Regions from separate parts of the Homo sapiens genome. Here region 1 is linked to region 2. Evidence: promoter capture Hi-C in 16 types of primary human blood cells and fetal thymus (Javierre and others, 2016). All regions are on one chromosome and are shown on one strand. Each heading gives the region's core, a stretch centred on a gene start or on the middle of the fragment in contact. The rest is flanking DNA. Distances are from core to core; before and after follow the strand shown.

Region 1 (6,866 bases), core at 262-2,761, 260 kb after region 2:
GGGCTGGGTGCTGGGGGTCAGATTCCAATGTCCTCTTGTACAGCAGTGTGGTAACTAGAGGCCAGTATCAGTAGCAATTACGTTATGCGATTTGTATGCTGAGCCCTGTGCTCTGAGGAAGCCAAAGTAACCTCCCAAAGCCTCAGAGGGAAATGAGGCATCAGATGCAGTCTTTGCATAAGAATTAGAAAAACAAGTGAATAAACTATCAGCTAATGGGGAGAAGCAAAATTCACATTACCTTATGGGTATCTTCCACGGAAACACACTAAAAAAGACTTTGGGTATATCTGCTCCATTACTGAGTTTACAGATTTTCCTTTCTTCTGCTTTGCCAGAAGCTGGCTCGGCCCTAAAGAGACCACATCCCTCACTTAGGGCCCGAGAAGGAGCACTTGGGTCTCAGCTGAAGACTGGTGAAGGGAGCTTAAGGTCCCTGTGCCCAGCAACAGAACATTTGAGTTAGGTAATGAGTAAGTTCTACAGACACTGGGGGGCTGCTCTTCTGTAGTTCACAAAAGCAAGATGGGTGACAGGTGGACATGGATGTGGGTTCCTCGGAACAAGGATTCAGGTCTAAGGAGAGCTGTTGTTTCCTGGATGGTCAAGGTCATATGGAGCAGCTCAGTATAGGCCCTAGGGAGCAGACCATGGAAAAGATGGACAACTAAGATGACAAAGATTAATGCTGGGCCTGGGCTTGCTTTGGAGACACAAAAGCAGCACCCAAAGCACCCATAAGACTCCTAGGTGAAGCTGCTCTCTGGGGCTGGTCCAAGCTGAATCTTCTATTCCTGTAACAGCTTTTCTTTCCATGTTTCCGCATATAGAGGGAGATGAAGTAGTTCTTAAAGCTCAAGGCACAGGTTTGAGTTTATTGTCATTAAGACCTCACTGCCAAGGCAAAGGCCAAGAGATAAATAAGTGAAATTGATTCCTTAAGTTGTAGCTCCAGAAAAGCAGTGCAAAGCTCTGGAGGCTGGAATGACAAGAATAGCAAAGGCCAGGAGTCTGAGGGCTGCCTTCACATCCTGGGTGAGGAATCTGGAGACTGCAAGCTTTGAGGGCTTCCTGAGGAGGTGAGGTTTCAGAAGGAAGGGAGGGGCCTAGTTAGTATGTGTTCACAGGGGACAGGAGAAGTGAAGGGAGAAGGAGGCAGTTTTTAGGTACAAGAAGAAGAACTGGCACCTGCCTCTCATGGAAGAACCAGATGCCCCGTCAGAGGGACATGCCAACCTTACCATCTGTGGCAGCCACAGCCAGCGACTATCTAGGTTCAAGCTCTGGAAACCTCTACCCTCCAACAAGTAGCCTGGCTTTCTGTGCACACTGCCTTTTCCTGAGGCCCTCTGAAAAGGAGGCTAATCATGCCCCAGCCTCATCCTGTACCAACCCTAAAGTTCCTCCATGCTGCTCCCAGGCCAGTCTCCCCAACACCACAGCATGTTACTTTCATTCCCCTAGAGACACAAGCCCCTCCCTCTACTGCTCACACCTACTGCCCTCCTGACCATGCCATATTTCAAATCACTCTGAATGTGCTCAGTCTTCCCTTCCAATGCCAACACTCCCATTCCTTCTTAGAGCAGTAAAGCTGCACCCAGAATGTCATGACTTCTGAAATCTCCAGCCCAGCAACTACTCTCTGACTCCAGCACCCCATCCCCCTTTTAGCTGTTTCCCTCCCCACACCCCATCCTCTGATGTCACTGAGCCTTCACAGTCATTGGTATTCGCATTTTCCCCTATTGCTCAGAAATTTCTGATATTCTTCTCATCCACATCAAGGGCAGATCCTCTGGGACAGGACTTAACCTTTAATCTTTGTTCTGTTAAAAGAAAGGAATGGGAACAGGTTTCACGCAGTATTTACTAAGCACCACACATGTCATACATTATAGTTTTCTGTTTTCACAATTGTAACAGGTGGTATTATTTTTTCTCATAGGACAGATGAGAAAACTCAAGCTTAGAGAGATTTCCCCCAAAATCACAGCATTACTTGGTGGTGGAGCCAGGTACAGAACACAGGTTTGTCTGATGCCAAAGACACTATACCATGCTGGTGCCTTCAGTTCTCTCATGTTTTTTTTCTTTCAATTCTCCCCTGTCCAAAGCCCAGCTGTGGTGAATCTGTAGATGTGCCTTCTCTGCTCCCTCAACCACAACAGGCCACAGTGCTGCCCCGTAGCCTGTTCACTGCTGTCTCCCCACTCCTTCCATCAGCCCACAGAGCTCATCCCAGACCTTCAACACTCTCCTAAAACCACAACCCCACCAACTCCTGCCACAAGATGACTCTACTTACTGTTTCCAGAGATAAGAGGGCTCCATAGGTGTCACGAGGTAGAAACTGCTCCTGCTGCTGAGTGGTTAGTACCTGCACCCTTCCCTGTCCTGGGTATCCCTCTACATTTGTACTTTTGAAGTGAACCTTTTTAGAAACAAGTCCAGTGCCACTTGAAAGGCCTCCTGGACAAAGCTCAAAATCCTGAAGCTTCCAGAAAAAAGCACAGATTGGAGAAGCTGGCACATTCCATTTACTCAATAGGAAGATGGGAAAGGATGAGCGAGGTCATCTCCAGCATTTCCTCTCCCACTAGACTCTGAAGCCTCAAAACAAAATGGAAAAGAGGAAGACAAATTCACAAGACAGTGCTGGAAGAGCTCATTATGGGGCATGAGCCAAGGCAAGGTCTCAGTAAACAGGATCTGATTTCAGTACTGTCCTGTGATCTGTCCTGTGATCGCAGCTGCCCCTTAGCCTGGCTCTATGAGCAGTAACTCTGCCATTATTCTCAGAGCACACATGAGATAAGTGAAGTGACTTACTGGGTGGCCCAGTGCCTGTGCTCTGGTCTCAGATCCTCATCTGCTTGAAGCAATAACCCTTCTGGTATCTGCTCTGGACTCTTGACTGTCAGACAGTGGTCTGAGGGCCATACCTTTGCAGGGGTTCACAGGGGCCAGGGCAGCCAACTCCTGAGGAGATCTCCCTGACTCTTTGTGCCATCCTTGGTGTCCTTAGTGGATGAACTCTGTCCTTCCTTCTCCATTCTGTAAGTCTGAAAACCCAGGATAAGAGGAAGTTTCCCATTATTGTCCCAAAACCAGGAGGACTGCAGTTTGGTTGTCTTTGATTGAGCTCTGTATCCCTGGAAGTCCAACAAAAGAGGGATGGGCCCTCAGGGTAAACCAAAATACCAAGCAAATGCCAAAGAAGAATTTCGCTTTCCTCTTTCAGAAAACTGGCTGTACAAATAAAAATCTTCCAACAGCCCAGTCTATGTGAGGAGGGAACATTTATCACTGCTGGGGAAATTTATGATGCAATGGCTAGATGATTTTCATCCTGTGTCTATAAATGTGTGTGAAATGTACACACAAGGTTTAAAAAAAAAAAAAAAAAAAAACTAAAGCAACAACTACAAAACCCAGATGTCTATGAACTCACCACTGGGCCTAAGAAATTGAGCATTACTAGCACCGTTGAAACCCCCTGGATGTCCTTCCTCAATGAGAGCCCTTCTCTTCCACCCAGGGGGAACAGCATCCTGAATTCTGGATGGTTTTACCACACTTGAATGTATTTGTAAACTGTGTATTACTTAGTTTTGTCTGTGTTTTTATATAAATGAAATCCTAATCATGTATTCTTCTGTGACTTGCTTACTTCTCCTGACATTCTGTTCCTGAATGTGACCTATGTTACAAGTAATATGCAGCTATACAGTTCCTTCATGCTCAGTGCTGTACAAAACTTTACTTTTTTTTTTTTTTTTTTTGAGATGGAGTCTCACTCTGTTGCCTTGGCTGGAGTGCAGTGGTGCCATCTCTGCTCACTGCAATCTCCGCCTCCCAGGTTCAAGTGATTCTTGTGCCTCAGCCTCCCAAGTAGCTGGGATTACAGGCATGCGCCACCACGGTCCAGCTAATTTTTGTATTTTTAGTAGAGATGGGGTTTCACCACGCTGGCCAGGCTAGTCTCGAACTCCTGACCTCAGGTGACCTGCCCGCCTCGGCCTTCCAAAGTGCTGGGATTACAGGTGTGAGCCACCGTGCCAGACCAAAACCTTCATTTTTAAAGTGTCCCTCCAGCCAGGTGCGGTGGCTCCCTCCAGCCAGGTACAGTGGCTCACGCCTGTAATCCCAGCACTTTGGGAGACTGAGGTGGGAGCTTCACGTGAGGCCTGGAGTTTGAGACCAGCCTAGCCAACATGGTGAAACTCCATCTCTACTAAAAAAAAAAAAAAATTAGCCAGGTGTGGTGCCACATGCCCACATGACTCCTCCTCCATGCATACATGGTAGGGGCTAAGCTCTCTGGTAGCTCTTATAAGGGCACCACATCCCAACAGACCTTGTCCCACATTCATGACCTCATCTAACCCCTATTTCCTTCCAAAAGCCCCATCTCCAGATAACATCACTTTTGGGGTTAAGGCTTCAACACTGGAATTTTGGAGAGGACACAAACATTCAGTCTCTAATGTGATAAGGCAAGTTCCCACCTTGTTTTTCTTCTTCAGGAGTATCTTGGCTGTTCTTAGCACTTTGCTCAAAGTTATTGACATTTTTATGTTGGCTTTTCAGGATTTTCAAAAAACTTGTTGGTTTTTTTTTTCCTGAAATTATGTTAAATTTAAAGATCACTTTGGAGAGAATTGTCATTTTTACCATGTCAAGTAAGTAAACCTGAGTTTTCCAGTCCATGAATGGGATGTGTGTTTATGTCATTTTTAATGCCTTTTAGTATAGTGTTATAATTTTCTCAGCCTCCAGACTGTGAGAAATAAATTCCTACTGTTAATCCACTCACTCTGTGGTATTTTGTTATGGCATCCCAAGCAGACTAAGTCACCATATAGAAATATGTTATCTATCTAAAATAAGACAATGTGTTATTTTCTTTCCCAATGGAACAGAACAGAGAGCCTATTAATAGATGCACACATAAAGAGACTTGATTTATAACAAAGCTGGCACTGCCGATCAGTGGGAAAACAATGATTTTTCAATAACTTTGCTGAGACAGGTGGCTACCTACATTTAAAAAATGAACTTAGACTTCTATCTCATATCACTTTCACAGAGCAATCCAGGTGGATTCTTTGAAAAATTATATTTTTATAATTCAACAGAAAAGTCTCAATAGATCTAAAATATATGAATCACATAGGAAATGATTAATTATCCTGATTACATTAAAACTAAGAACTTTTATTCATGAAAAAGCATCAGAAATAAAATAAAAAGACAAGCCACCAGGTGAAAGAAAATATTTGCAATATACTGAATTGACAAAGAATTAGTATCCAAAATCTATAAAGAATTCCTGGCTGGGCGCAGTGGCTCACGTGTAATCCCAGAACTTTGGGAGGCTGTGGCAGGCAGATCACCTGAAGTCGGGAGATTGAGACCAGCCTGACCGACATAGAGAAACCCTACCTCTACTAAAAACACAAAATTAGCCGGGCATGGTGGTGCATGTCTGTAATCCCAGCTACTCGGGAGGCTGAGGCAGGGGAATCGCTTAAACCTGGGAGGCAGAGGTTGCAGTGAGCCAAGATCGTGCCATTGCACTCTAGCCCAGGCAACAAGAGTGAAACTCCATCAAGAAAGAAAAGAAAGATGAACAAACGAACTAATGATCGAGAGAAAGAGAGAGAAACAGAGAGAGAGAGAGAGAAAGAAAGAGAAAGAAAGGAAAGAAAGAAAAGAAAAAAGAAAAGGAAAGAAAGAAAGGAAAGAGAAAGAAAAAGAAAGAAAGAAAGAAAGAAAGAAAGAAAGAAAGAAAGAAAGAAAGAAAGAAAGAATTCCTAAAATAGGCCAGGCGCAGTGGGTCACGCCTGTAATCCCAGCACTTTGAGAGGCCGAGGTGGGCAGATGACCTGAGGTCAGGAGTTCAAGACCAGCTTGGCCAACATGGCGAAACCCCGTCTCTATTAAAAATACAAAAATTAGCTGGGCCTGATGGTGCACGCCTGTAGTCCCAGCTACTCGGGAGGCTGAGGCATGAGAATTGCTTGAACCTGGGAGGTAGAGGCTGCAGTGAGCTGAGATTGCGCCACTGCACTCCAGCCTGGACAACAGAGTGAGACTTAGTCTCAAGAAAAAAAAAAAAATTCCTAAAATAAACAAGAAAAAGGCAATCTAAAAGAAACATGAGCAAAAAACAAGAACAAGCATTTAACAGAAGGGAAGTATAATAGCTTGGCCAATAAATAAAGACGGTTCACTAATAATAAGAGAAATGTAAATTAAAATCCTAATAATAACAGCACTGCACACTCACCACAGTGGCAAAACTGGCAAAACAGCAAGTGTTGGCCAGAATATGGAAAAACTCAAATACCTGTATGCTGCTGCTGGAAGTATAATTTGGGACAATCAATTTGTAAAACAGTCTGGCCTCATCAAAAAAAGCCATATGTGGGCTCATACTAAAATTCCAAATTTTTACTCTTCATTCCAACCCTACAGAAACATTTGCCCATGTGGACCAAGAGACATGCACAAGAATGCTCATAACAGTACAGTCTGCAATACCAAAAAAAGCCTATATTTACTTATTTATTTTTTAGAGTTAGGGTCTTGCTCTGTCAACCAGGCTGGAGTACAGTGGTGAGATCATAGCTTACTGCAGCCTTGAACTCCTGGGCTCAAGCCACCCTCCAGTCTCAGCCTTCCAAGTAGATGGGACTACAGGAATATGCCACCATGCCTGGCTAATTTTTTTTTTTTGGGTAGAGATGGGGTCTCACTGGTCTTGAACTGTGGGCTCAAGCAATCCTCCTGCCTCAGCCTCCCAAAGTGCTGGGATTACAGATGCTGGCTAATTTAAAAAATTCTTTTGTAGAAACAAG
Region 2 (7,060 bases), core at 2,854-5,353:
AAGTGTGATCTTTTGTTGGGGGCACACTGGGAGAGTGGGTCTGTCCACTGCCTCCCAGCCTCAGAGCAGCTCACCACAGGAGCAGGAGAGTGAACTCGTGGCTGTGGCTGTCAGGCAGGGCCTTTCTTGAGAGCCAGCGCAGGCCTGGGCTCCTCAGAGGCTTCTGGAGTGAGAGATGGCACCTCAGCCTGGCCCATGGAGGCATGTTCAGGGATCAGCACTACTGTGCTTCTTGGAGGAGGTGGGACTTGAGCTGGACCCATGGGAGGCTGGAAATTTAGATGAGTGAAAAGGAGGAAAGGCGAAGTAGAGCCACATTACAGAGGGCCTCAGAGTCCAGATAAAGCAGTTAACATGTAGTGGCTCCAGGAGGGAAGCCTGTCTGTGCACCACATACCCAGGATGTTTGTGGGAAGGAAGGAGATGTGCGGAAGGGACCCAGGAGACCTGCAGGAGGCAAGGGCTGCAACAGACCCCCTCTGGAAGTTTACAGGAGGTGAGTGTGAGTCATTAGAGACATTCAGTTCTGTAGGAACTAACGAACTCCCAAGAGGCAGTAAACTTAAAACTCAGCAGTCTCGATAAGTATGGATAAATTAGGCAAAGACAGATTCTGAGGAATTTCTGGTGAGGGGTGCCAAGTTTGGGGAGCAGCCCCTGGCTCCTTGCAAGCTACCCTTCAGTGCTCTGTGTGACCAAGTCCAAGTCGATGCAGGAGGGCAGGCACTGGGTCAGCAAGCCACTCAGTGAATGTGCAGGTGAGGCCGTTCATAGGCGCTTGTGTGCCTCCCAGCAGGCTGCCTGCCATTGCCAGGGCTGGCCTTCAGCAGGGTGCGCCACCATGGCCTGAGTGGTTTTCTGCTGAAGTCCGTGCTGATTTGGCCAGTGGATAGGCATCACCTGGGTGCAAAACCATTGTCTCCAGGTAGGAATGACCTCAGCTGTTTGCTCCGTGTCTCGCTCAGCCTGTAGATGTGTCCCTCATCCCTTCATGCCTCCCTCTTCACTCCTCTTTTACTTTCTACTCGGGGCTTGCATGTTTACAAGAGAGGTGAACCCAACAGAAACTAGTATAGGCCAAAAGGAAAATGTGCTGAAGCTCACACAGCACAGTCGTGTGGAAAAGGCAGCAGTGACTGCTTCATCCAGTGCCCTTCCCACAGCCAGTCAGTTGCGACCCAAGGGGCTTAGGGTAGGAGTGTTTCTCCATAGGGGAAGAGTAACAGCCTGCACCCACCACACACCCAAAGCCCTACATCCTGCCACACTGAGACCTCACTTCATTTGGGCGGGTCCCTCCTGGGTTGCAGTTTCCTTCATTGCTCCCCTGTCCCAAATACTCAAGTCTCTCTCATTAAAAATAAAGAGCAGGCCAGGTGCAGTGGCTCACACCTGTAATCCCACACTTTGGGAGGCCAAGGCGGGTGGATCACTTGAGCCCAGGATTCGAGACCAACCTGGGCAACATGACAAGATCCTGTCTCTACAAAAAATAACAAAAATCATCTGGGCATGGAGGCACACGCCTGTAGTCCCAGCTACTTGGGAGGCTGAGGTGGAAGGATCACCTGAGCCCATGAGGTGGAGGCTACAGTGAGCTGTGATCATGCCACTGCACTCCAGCCTGGGTCAAAGAGTGAGACCCTGTCTCAAAAAAAAAAAAAAATAGGCCGGGCACAGTGGCTAATGCCTATAATCCCAGCACTTTGGGAGGCCAAGGCGGACGGATCACCTGAGGTCAGGAGTTCGAGACCAGCCTGGCCAACATGGTGAAACCATCTCTACTAAAAATACAAAAATTAGCCGGGCGTGGTGGCACGTGCCTGTAATCCCAGCTACCGGGGAGGCTGAGGCAAGAGAATTGCTGGAACCTGGGAGGCAGAAACTGCAGTGAGCTGAGATCACGCCACTGCACTCCAGCCTGGATGACAGCGAGACTCCATCTCAAAAAAAAAAAAAGAAAAAGAAAAAGAATTAATTAATTAATTAAATAAAGAGCATGTCTCCCACCCCAGGCCTAAGTTCTTCCCTCTATGAGAGACTACTTGCAGAAACCTGTGTTCTCACTCTTCCCCCTTCCTCACTTCATTCCCACACATTTCTTTTCCATCCCTGCGCACCAAGGTCACCTTGGTGCTAAACACCAGGGACCCATGGTCTCTTCCCCTTTGTGTCACAGGCTGTCCTCTGCCTCTTATCCTCACCCTTTAGCTGCTCCTCCACTGTCTCCTCTCTCAGAGGTCAGGATTCTGGATCTGTCTCTGTGGACCCTCAGCTCTCCTCCAATCCCAAGTCCCCCGCATCCTGGTCGCATGTCAGGGTGGTCCAGAGATGCCTGCCTCCCACTGCCCACACCCAGGGGCCCGCCCTCCTTTCCTCTAACCTTCCCACATACTCTGGCCCCATGGATCCACGGCAGTTCCTGCTGGCCCTTCTCCATTTTGTTCCTTATGCTGCACCCCTCTGCTGCCACTCCCTGCGTCCGTGACTCCAGCTCACTCGTCTCTGTCCTTCACCCAGGCCGCCTGCTCAGGGTTTGTGCCTCTCTGTGCTCCTGCAGCACCTGAGTGTTTATTCACCTCTGAACCTCTGCTTTCCCACCTGAGTACACGCAGCTCCTGGCTGCAGTGACTTCATATCCTGAGGACTGGAGCTCCGTGGTGAACAGATGGCTTTCTATGTTCTAATGAGAGGGATACAAGAGTTCCACAGTTCTAGTCTGGAAAGGACCAAACATTTCTTAAAAGCTAAGTATGTTGCCGGAAAAAAAAGGGAGCAGAGCTTTCCCCAGGAAGCTTGGCTCTGGTTTAGATTTTTCAGGAAAAGCCGGAATCAAATTACAGAATAAATAAAGGCAACCATCCCCCTTTTAAAGGTACACCAGCCTTGGTGCATCTTTGAAGAAAGCATTCTGTAAACCCCAACCAGAACTAAACTAGTACGTCGAACTCAGATTCATTTTCACTAAACCACAAGCAAATGTTTCCCTAAAAATCACCCAGTTAACAAAGTCCGCATATTTAAGCCAAAACAATTTAACTGAACAAATGGGCCACACGTTGATTTCCGGTCCCTGCTAATAAGTCAGTCTGGAAGTTCACAGGTGTGCCCATCCTGCCTTGGCTGCTGAAGTCCAGGTGTCTAGGGCTGACTGATGCCCATTATGCCTCCCCTCCCCCATCTTTGTCACAGGATTTGACGCACCAGCTCTCCAAATGACCCTGGCCCTCCCATTTGCTGTTCAGCCCAAGTGCGGAGATTGGCTATGAACCCTGTAAACAGGCCTCTGACCCCCAGAGGCTGATGGCTGGCCAAGGAAAGCTGAGCTGCTGACGCAGACTGGGAAGCAAGAGCCCACTTCCAGCAGCCCAGGCTAGCTGTGTCCAAATCCATGACTGGGGAGGGGTTAGAGCCTTGAGGGACAAAATTATTCTACCTACCTAGGGAGACTGCACTGGCCCAACAGCTGGGCCCCATCTCATGGGCCCGCTTCTTCGCCAGGAGAGAAGCCACTCCGGGGTAGGTACTGCCCCACCCAAACCCAGCCATCTGGAGTGACCCAGCCCTGGTTCCCAGGTGTGTGGATGTGAATTGTCCCACCCAACCCACTCTACAGTGAGCAAACGGAAGCCCTCTGGGAGAGTGGTCACAGCCTCCCCTGTACCTCTGAACAGCCTGCCAGGCTCCCTACTCTTAGGCTTCCACTGTCCACCAGGGAAAGCCCTGAGCTGGGAGTTGGGGAGCCCCCAGGCATTGCCCCTGCCCAGGACACAATTCTCTTTTGGGATCAGGGAAGGCTGTGAGGGCTTTCTAGGTCTCAAGATCAGGAGCTTGAAGATGCAGCCTGGGAAGTGGGAAGGTGAGACCAGGACATAGGCCAGCCTAAAGCAAGAGTCCTGGGCCTGAAGGCTCCTGGGAAGGTGGTGGGGAGGGAGCATGTGTCGGTGGCCTCAGGGCAGCAGCTGCCTGGTGAATGTTCATGGACTGGATGCTCTGGGAAGCGGGTTGGGTGGTGAGCTTCTCTCTTCCCCTCTGAAGACGTCACTGGAGTCTGGGGGTGGAGCTGCCTGGTCTATAAATCCTGGGGCCATCAGGCTAGGGTCCTGCAGCTGCCTGAAGGAGCCATCTCATCCACAGCTCTTCCTTGGTGAGTGGGGAGCCTTCCCTAAGGGCTAGGACACCTGGACCAAGTTTCATCCTGGGCGTATGGTGTGCTGCTCCTCTTCCCCATTCCCAGGTGCCTCCACCCCTGAACCATGCCAGAGAAGTCCCCTTTTCCTCTCCTCTCCCCAACAGCTCTACCATCTATTCTTGTGCTTGTTGCCCCTGGCATGGGAGGGATAAGGGGTAGAAGCACTTGCCCCCATCAATACCACTCATCCATTCCACATCCCCAACTACTATGGAAGAGATACAGCAGGCCACGGAGAAAAGGGCAGAAGGCCTGCAACTCTGGTTCCCTAGCACTGGTGCTCCAAACACGCCTACATTGAGAACTCCCCTGACCATCCATCTATCCTCCCATCCATTGGCCTGAATTCAGGTCTCTGTTCCCCTCCAACTTTCTTCCACTTCTGGAAACTCCTTGAAGGAAAGATGGATGGACCTGGACAAGTGGGAGGGCCCTCAGAGCTGGCAAGGCAGGTAGCCTCTGTGCCCCAGGCTCAGGGAGAAGGCTCGTCCCCTGGAGCATCATCCCCTGCTGGGCCAGGATCCCCCAGGATCTGGACCCCTGTATGCTTGGGATGAGGAGCGGTGGCAGAGAGGGAAGGGCATAAGGAGATACCAAAGCTGCCCCTGAGATGCCAGTTTTCCAAAGTGGCCCTGGAGGAAGTAGGGGGATGTGGGGGTGAGGTAAGTCTCCTTGAATGCTGTACCCTGTCCATTAGAGCAGCCATGGCCAGCTCCAGGCGAGGCCTCCTGCTCCTGCTGCTGCTGACTGCCCACCTTGGACCCTCAGAGGCTCAGCACTGGTCCCATGGCTGGTACCCTGGAGGAAAGCGAGCCCTCAGCTCAGCCCAGGATCCCCAGAATGCCCTTAGGCCCCCAGGTGGGTGTCTCCCAGCCTCATGGGGAGGAAGAAAGTGATGGCCGGGGGCTCCCCCACCCTCCTGGAGCCTGAGGTCGGGGTAGGGAGGACAGCATCAGTTCCCTTCTAAGGAAGGGCCCTGGACACTGCAGCAGGCAGCCCAGTCCAGACTGCCCATGGCCTCCCAAGTGATGCCCTGGCTCCCCTGGACGACAGCATGCCCTGGGAGGGCAGGACCACGGCCCAGTGGTCCCTTCACAGGAAGCGACACCTGGCACGGACACTGCTGGTGAGTAGGGTGAGAGGTCCCCAGCATCAAGACCAGCCACTGGTCATCAGAGGCCATTGTGGCTTAGGGTTGGGTGCTGGGAGGGTGGGGAGAATGAAACACCACTGAGATGCCCCCTGCCACAGCACCCCCAGCCATTTCTCAGTGCCCCTACTGCACACAGCAGGGTGCTGTCTGCTATCCTTCCTATTTCCCAGGAGGATTCTAGACAATTTACAAAGCACTTGGGTTAAAGACCAAAGTCACTAGTAGACTAGAAGGAGATAATTGTTCTATAAGACAGTGGTGGCCATGGGATCCCACAGGCATCCTGACAAGCCAATGACTGTCTTGAGGTGGACAGACCCCAGGCCAGTGGAAAGAGGTGAGGGATGCAACCTCACTCAAACAGACAACAGGGCCAAGAGGACCAGGTGGTGACTGACATGTGCACTAGGAACATCTCAGGGACTGCAGAGCTCCCCAAGACCATAGCAGAAGACAGGCGTGGGGAAATGGTTTGCTACTGTTTTGCAAATCAAACATTTACAGTGCATCAGGAGAGCCCGGTAACTAAAGAAGAAAGTGGTTAGTTCCTATGAGGCAATGTCTTACCGCCTGATTTGTGTGTATGTGCTGAGGTTTCTATGCGTCAGGCTTGTTTAGGGTGGACAAGAGGGCATGCCCAAGGGAGCTGGAGATCCCCACACTAGCTGGATCCTCAGGCTTCTACGGGAGGCGGGGGGCGTCCTGCTGTGGGAGGCCACATGGGGACTGGGGGGGACGAGAGGGGAGAGAACCAGGAAGATGGCAGCTCGGCGGTTACGAGACCAGTGTCCTGAGACATGACCGCCACCTCTCCCTCCGCAGACCGCAGCCCGAGAGCCCCGCCCCGCCCCGCCATCCTCCAATAAAGTGTGAGGTTCTCCGAAGCTGTTGCGTCGAGTTCTGTCCTTCGTCCCCTCCCTGTCTTCCCCGCTGAGACCCTTCCCTGCGTGGGGGCTGGAGGGACGCGGGTCCGGCCCCGCGGGCGGGAGTAACTAAGGGATGGCCCCGGGCCCTGGCGGGAAGGCCGGGCCAGAGCCTGGGGGCGGGATGCGGACGTCCGCAGGGTCGCCGCTTCGGTTCCAGAGGCCACACGGCCGGGCGGGGCGTGAGGGACAGCCCGAGGACTACAGGTCCCAAGGTTCCCCGCGCCGCTTCCGGGGCACGGTGGCGTCCCGGCACCGCGGCCGCAGTGAGGAGACTCGGCCATGCTACGCGCGCTGAGCCGCCTGGGCGCGGGGACCCCGTGCAGGCCCCGGGCCCCTCTGGTGCTGCCAGCGCGCGGCCGCAAGACCCGCCACGACCCGCTGGCCAAATCCAAGATCGAGCGAGTGAACATGCCGCCCGCGGTGGACCCTGCGGAGTTCTTCGTGCTGATGGAGCGTTACCAGCACTACCGCCAGACCGTGCGCGCCCTCAGGTGTGCGGCCGGGGGGAGGTGGCCGCCCGCGCGCGCTGGTGACGGTGGGAGTGGGCGGAGAGGGTGCTGATTCCTGGCGCGTCTGCACCCAGGATGGAGTTCGTGTCCGAGGTGCAGAGGAAGGTGCACGAGGCCCGAGCCGGGGTTCTGGCGGAGCGCAAGGCCCTGAAGGACGCCGCCGAGCACCGCGAGCTGATGGCCTGGAACCAGGCGGAGAACCGGCGGCTGCACGAGCTGCGGTGCGTGGGGCGGGAGGCGGGGCGGGGCGGCGCGGCCTGGCCGGCCTGGGAGAAGCCCG

The links. Contacts are between HindIII fragments. The CHiCAGO score rates a contact against its expected background, and 5 or more counts as called.
Region 1: a fragment that was not itself captured here is called in contact with the fragment with the promoter of GNRH2 in region 2 in 2 of 17 cell types (naive CD4 T cells and naive CD8 T cells); the score reaches 6.7 in naive CD4 T cells.

The regions. Positions count from the first base shown.
Region 1 is chr20:3,304,576-3,311,441 of GRCh38, forward strand. The region is part of intron 20 of DNAAF9 (dynein axonemal assembly factor 9); the gene reads right to left. Among named protein-coding and RNA genes, the nearest start is that of SLC4A11, 69 kb to the left of the region's middle. The HindIII fragment of the contact is 910 bases long and covers 1,057-1,966 here.
Region 2 is chr20:3,039,519-3,046,578 of GRCh38, forward strand. GNRH2 (gonadotropin releasing hormone 2) reads left to right here and starts at 4,104. Exons shown (of 4, transcript NM_178331.2): 1 at 4,104-4,147; 2 at 4,890-5,050; 3 at 5,182-5,318; 4 at 6,168-6,229. The coding sequence starts at 4,897. The coding sequence ends at 6,218. MRPS26 (mitochondrial ribosomal protein S26) reads left to right here and starts at 6,534. Exons shown (of 4, transcript NM_030811.4): 1 at 6,534-6,762; 2 at 6,855-7,001. The coding sequence starts at 6,551. RefSeq lists an enhancer at 6,016-6,075 and a silencer at 6,176-7,045. The HindIII fragment of the contact is 14,485 bases long and covers 2,794-7,060 here.